Linked DNA regions of Homo sapiens: region 1 is linked to region 2. The links are contacts of gene promoters, found by promoter capture Hi-C in human tissues and cell types (Jung and others, 2019). All regions are on one chromosome and are shown on one strand. Each heading gives the region's core, a stretch centred on a gene start or on the middle of the fragment in contact. The rest is flanking DNA. Distances are from core to core; before and after follow the strand shown.

What was found. The method cuts DNA at HindIII sites, captures the fragments that hold promoters and counts their contacts. A contact is called where the count stands out against the background at its distance.
Region 1: a fragment that was not itself captured here is called in contact with the fragment with the promoter of NRP1 in region 2 in 1 of the 25 tissues and cell types used here (dorsolateral prefrontal cortex).

Annotation. Positions count from the first base shown.
Region 1 is chr10:34,500,249-34,502,975 of GRCh38, reverse strand. All of the region lies in intron 3 of PARD3 (par-3 family cell polarity regulator), which reads left to right. Among named protein-coding and RNA genes, the nearest start is that of PARD3, 310 kb to the left of the region's middle. The HindIII fragment of the contact is 6,066 bases long and covers 1-2,727 here.
Region 2 is chr10:33,333,380-33,336,079 of GRCh38, reverse strand. It overlaps NRP1 (neuropilin 1), which reads left to right and starts at 1,413. Exons shown (of 17, transcript NM_003873.7): 1 at 1,413-1,770. The coding sequence starts at 1,698. The HindIII fragment of the contact is 10,676 bases long and covers 1-2,700 here.

The DNA.
Region 1 (2,727 bases), core at 3-2,502, 1.2 Mb before region 2:
GGTCTGTGATCCATGGTTCAGTTGGATCCCTTATGAGGAGAGGGAGGAAAGCCAGCTGGGCAGAGATATGCATGGGCCTGTGTCTGTGCTTCTGCCAGAAAAGAAGTCACCAGCTCTGCCTTCCTCACTTCTCCCCCTTGTCTAAGATCTGTCCTTCTCTTTTCTTCAAAAGTGGGAAATTAGTTTAATCAAAGTTGTTGTTTTTTGTTTTTGTTTTTTTTGAGATGGGATCCTGCTATGTTGCCCATACTCAAGTAATCCTCTCTCTGAGCCTCCCCAGTAGCTGGGACTATAGGTAGTCACCACCACACCTAGCCAAGTCTAATGTATAGTTTATTTTTTCCAATTTTGGAAAGCAGGGTATATGTAGTTCTGAGTGTCTGTGTGTGTGTGTCTATATATCGCTACACACACAATTAGTACTAGTCTATTCTTGCTATAACAAATCATCATCATGTTAGGGCTTAAGAGTTTATTACAGTCCTGCATGTCAGAGTCTGGTGTGGATCTCACTGGGCTGAAATCCAGGGTTGGCAGTGCTGCCTTCCTGCGGGAGGCTCTAGGTGAGAATCTGTTTTCTTGCCTTCTCCAGATTCTGGAGTCCACTTGCCTTCCTTCGTGTATGGCCCTTCCTCCATCTCTAGCATTATCAACCTTGTACCTTGTGGACCCTTCTTCTATGGTTACATCTCTCTCTGACTCTTCCGTTCTGACCTTCTCTTCCACGTTTAAGACTCATGTGACTACATAGTCTTGAATTGAGTGAGACTCAGGATCATCCAAATGAGCCCACTGTCTAAGTCCATTCAGGCTGCTTCAACAGAATACCTTAGACTGGGTGGCTGATAAACAACCAAACCTCATTTCTCATGTCCTACAGGCTGCGAGTGCAAGATCAAGGTGCCAGCAGTTTTGGTGTCTAGTGAAGGCTTGCCTTCTCATAGATCTTTACTTCTCAATATGTCTTTACATGGTGGGAGGAGCAAACAAGCTCTATTGGGTCATTTTAATAAGGGCACTAATCCAAGTCATGAGGACACAGCTTCCCACAAGGCCCCACATCCTATACCATCACCTTGGGGATTAGGATTTCCACTCTTGAGTTTTGGTAGACACAACATTCATTCCATACCACTAGGGTAATGTCCTGATGCCAAGGTCTTTACCTTAATCACATGTATGATGTAAGGTAACATGGCAGGTTCTAGGGATTAAGATGTAGACATCTTTTTTTTTTTGGCGGGGAGGAGGGTGGGAGGGCATTATTTTGCCTACCACATTTTACATGCATTTAAATATTTACGGTAGTGTGAAAATAACGCACTTTACAAATACATCGTCTTCCATGATAATATGAAATGAGCATCTGACCTAGTGATATTAATGGGCTGATCATTTTGATTTCAGTATTTTGGGAAGGAAAGTAATGAACAGTAATGATCTAGTGAGTGTATTCACCCATTCTTACATTGCTATAAAGAAATACCTGGGACTGGGGTAACTTTCATTGGCTCACTGTTCTGCAGGCTTTCTAGGAAGCATGCCATTGGCATCTGCTTGGCATCTAGGGAAGCCTCTGGAAGCTTATAATCATGGTGAAAGTTGAAGGGGGAGGAGGCACGTCACATGACGAAAGCAGGAGCAAGTCGGGCAGAGGGGGGTGCCACACACACACTTTTAAATGATCAGATATCCTGAGAACTCATTGTCATGAAGACAGCACCAAACCATGAAGGAATCGTCCCCAGGATTCAGACACCTCCCACCAGGCCCCACCTCCAGCATTGGGGATTACAGTTCAACATGAAATTTGGGCAGGGGGCAAGTATCCAAGCCATATCAGTGAGTATTTCTTTGAGACCATTTTTTATTTAGGTGAGCCATATGGGGCAATATTTGTACAAATAAAACTCTAGCCATTATATAATTGTGGTTGCTTGATAAAAAACAAAAATCTGTGGTAACAAATTAGTTATTTTTAACTCTTTTGCACAATTAAAAGTAATATAGTAATTTTTTAGTGCTGTAGATGGGAAATTTTGATGAGAAAAATTATGTACAGGTTGTGAATATTGTGCATGTTAGGAAGTTTCATTCTTTCACTGGTACTCTCTCTTGTTCAAGCTCTCCTCTTTCCTTCTGTATGACTTATTTTACTTTTAGGCATTAAATTATTGTTACACAAGTTACGTTACTGTATTCATTTTATGTTATTATAATTTATGTTATTTTATGTAACTTTTGTTATTGGAACATAACAGACTGGAGTGCAGTGGTGTGATCTTGGCTCACTGCAGCCTCCATGCCCTGGGTTCAAGCTGTTCTCCCACCTCAGCCTCCTGAGTAAGCTAGGATTACAGGCATGAGCCACCACACCCAGCTAATTTTTGTATTTTTGTAGAGATGAGGTTTCACCATGTTGGCCAGGCTGGTCTCAAACTCCTGACCCCAGGTGATCTGCCTGCCTTGACCTCCCAAAGTGCTGGGATTACAGGTGTGAGCCACCGTGCCTGGCCTATTTTAGACAATTTTAATAATTCTGTTTTGGACAGAAACTTTAAAAATGGTGGAAGATTGGTTCTAATGAGTCTTCATGAGCACATTGACCTAAAGGCCATTTTTGTTTTACAACTTACTTTCTTCTTTCGATTTTGAAAAAGTGCATTCTTGGGCATTTACTAATCTTTTAGATAATTAAAATTTTCTTAAGCATAGCACCCTTTTCTA
Region 2 (2,700 bases), core at 164-2,663:
CTCCGGGGCCTGATCGGTGACCGCAACCTGTTTCTTCCCAGAAATGTCCTTGCTTTTCGCATCTACAAACGCTTCCTGCAGCACTTCTCGGAAAACCCTCGGGGACGGGCCTGGGGGGCATCCAGCGGGCTGGGGGCACGAGCCGCTGTGGGAAGTGGGGGTGGCAGGAGCTCCAGGGCCGGCGTGCACGTTGTCTGTGGCCGGGAGCGGACACTGAGAGGGCGCAGCGAAGAGCACCCCTCCCCCGCCACTCTTTCCCTCCCTCGGGATGCACAGAGAAACGGGGGCCGCCCGACCCCTGATTTCCACACCCCTCCCTAGCACCTGGGCTCCCAGACAAGGTTGGGCGGGGTCGGGCGGCGATTGCCCCCCTGCTTGGAAGGCGCAGCACCTCCCACCCTCCGGTGTTCCCTCTGCCCCAGAGGAACGGGCACCAAATCTCGGGAAACAATGAAGCCTCCGCGGCGCGCAGAGGGCACCCAGCCGCGCGCCCTGATGCGGGCCAGGGAGGCCGCGTGGGGCTGCAGCCCGGCCTCGCCCGCCCAGGCGGTCTGTCTTCGCTTCACACCACAGCGACACTGCTGCCCCTCGCCCGGCTTCGCGGTGCGGCTCCCACTCCAGCCCGGCTTTCCCCTCCTCGCCCTCCAGCTCTGGGCAGGGGCGTCCAGGGGTGCCCCGCTGCTCCCCGCCACAGGTCTCAGGATGGCGCGATGAGGAGTGGCAGGGGGTGACCCTGCGTTCCTCGCCGCCGAGGGCGCGGGCCCCGGGATTTGAAGTTGCGAGAAGCAGCCGCCACCTCCCGGGCGCTCCGCACTGCGCGGCGGCGGGATCTGCGCCTGCAGGAGCTGCCCAGCTCTCCCTCTAGGGGTGCAGAGCGAGCACGCGAGGTGGGCTGGCCAGACCCTGCGGCTGGCACTGACCTCCGCGCCCCTTCCTCCGACGCCCGCACCCACGCGACCGGGGCGCAGACTCCCAGCGCCTTCCTTCCCGCGGAGATCCCTGCAGGGTCTCTGGGAAAGACAGACAGACGGACGGGGAGAGCACTCGGAGGGAAAGTTGTTCCTCCCAGTCTCCTGTCAGGCAATTACAGGCGAGCCCAAGCGGGGAGAGGGGCGGGAGGAAGCGAGGGAAGGGCTCCGGAGTGGGGGGAGGCCGCAGGAGGGGAGGCGGGGGTGCAGTTGGTGAAACTCCTCTGTCTCCCGCTCATCTTTTCATTGCTCGTTCCCCTCCTTCCCGCAGACACCCGGACCTCCCCTGGGCGCCAGCTCCGCGGCTCCAACGGGTCCAGAAACAAGCCGGATTTTTTTTTTTTCTTCCTGGAAATTGGCTTTGGTGTGTGTTGCCCTACCTCCCTCCTCCCCCTCCCACCCACAGCCCCCCCCCGGCCTTTTTTTTTTTTTTTTTTTTTTTTGAGACATGGCCCGGGCAGTGGCTCCTGGAAGAGGAACAAGTGTGGGAAAAGGGAGAGGAAGCCGGAGCTAAATGACAGGATGCAGGCGACTTGAGACACAAAAAGAGAAGCGTTCCTCTCGGATCCAGGCATTGCCTCGCTGCTTTCTTTTCTCCAAGACGGGCTGAGGATTGTACAGCTCTAGGCGGAGTTGGGGCTCTTCGGATCGCTTAGATTCTCCTCTTTGCTGCATTTCCCCCCACGTCCTCGTTCTCCCGCGTCTGCCTGCGGACCCGGAGAAGGGAGAATGGAGAGGGGGCTGCCGCTCCTCTGCGCCGTGCTCGCCCTCGTCCTCGCCCCGGCCGGCGCTTTTCGCAACGGTAAGTGACAGGCAGAGGCGCGGGTGACAGCGGCGCCCCGGCTCCCAGCTGCCCGCCCCGGACCGGGGCTCAGGCGGGGCTTCCCGGGATCAGCCGGGAACAACCGACTCCCGGGCGAAGGAAACTTTTATCTGGGAGGAGAGAAGAAGAAATGAGATCAGGCGGTTTAGAGCAGGAGGATTTCAGGTCTTTGGGCTCCCTCCTGACGTTGATCCTTGGGCTGTGGGGCTTTTCCTTACCTCTGTTACAAGACAGAGCTGTCTACCTTCCCAGATCAGCATGCCAATTATCTTAATAATGTTTCCTCCCAAAGGCAATTAGAAGAGACTCCCTTTCAAAAATCTGATGGCTGTTGAAAGTTAATGAACACTTTACCAGGAGATCTTACTTCCTGGTTCCTTTGCTGCTCCCCTAAGCCGTTTCCTCTGGTGGGTGACGGCCAGAGATATCGGTTTGTGGGTTGATGAAACTCCCTCCCCCGCCTTTGTACACCTTCCGTAATCTGTCTGGAGTATGACTGAAAGTTACATAGTATCAATACAGGAATCTGACATATACAGTGTAAGGCACCAGGATATCTGAAAATCCCTAAGCTAGTTGCAGCTTCCACTTAGCTTTTAAAATCACTCACTGTTAAGTAAATGAAAAACTATACTGGGGTCTAAACAGTACCATGTAACCTAAATAATGTGTTTTAAAATGGGATCTGGTTGTAGGCATGTTTGACTTCACACTGTAAAGTAAGTGCAGGCAAGGGTATGCAATTATCTTTACAGTAAGTCGTCAGCAATTGTTATTAACTAATGATCAAATATTTACTTTTGTCTGGCTTAGATTTCAATCACAGTAATTAGAAGAAAAGAACATCCACTACTTACTGTGGTATATTGTTTTAATAAGAGACCGCAAGTGGAGGGCCTCATACCAACA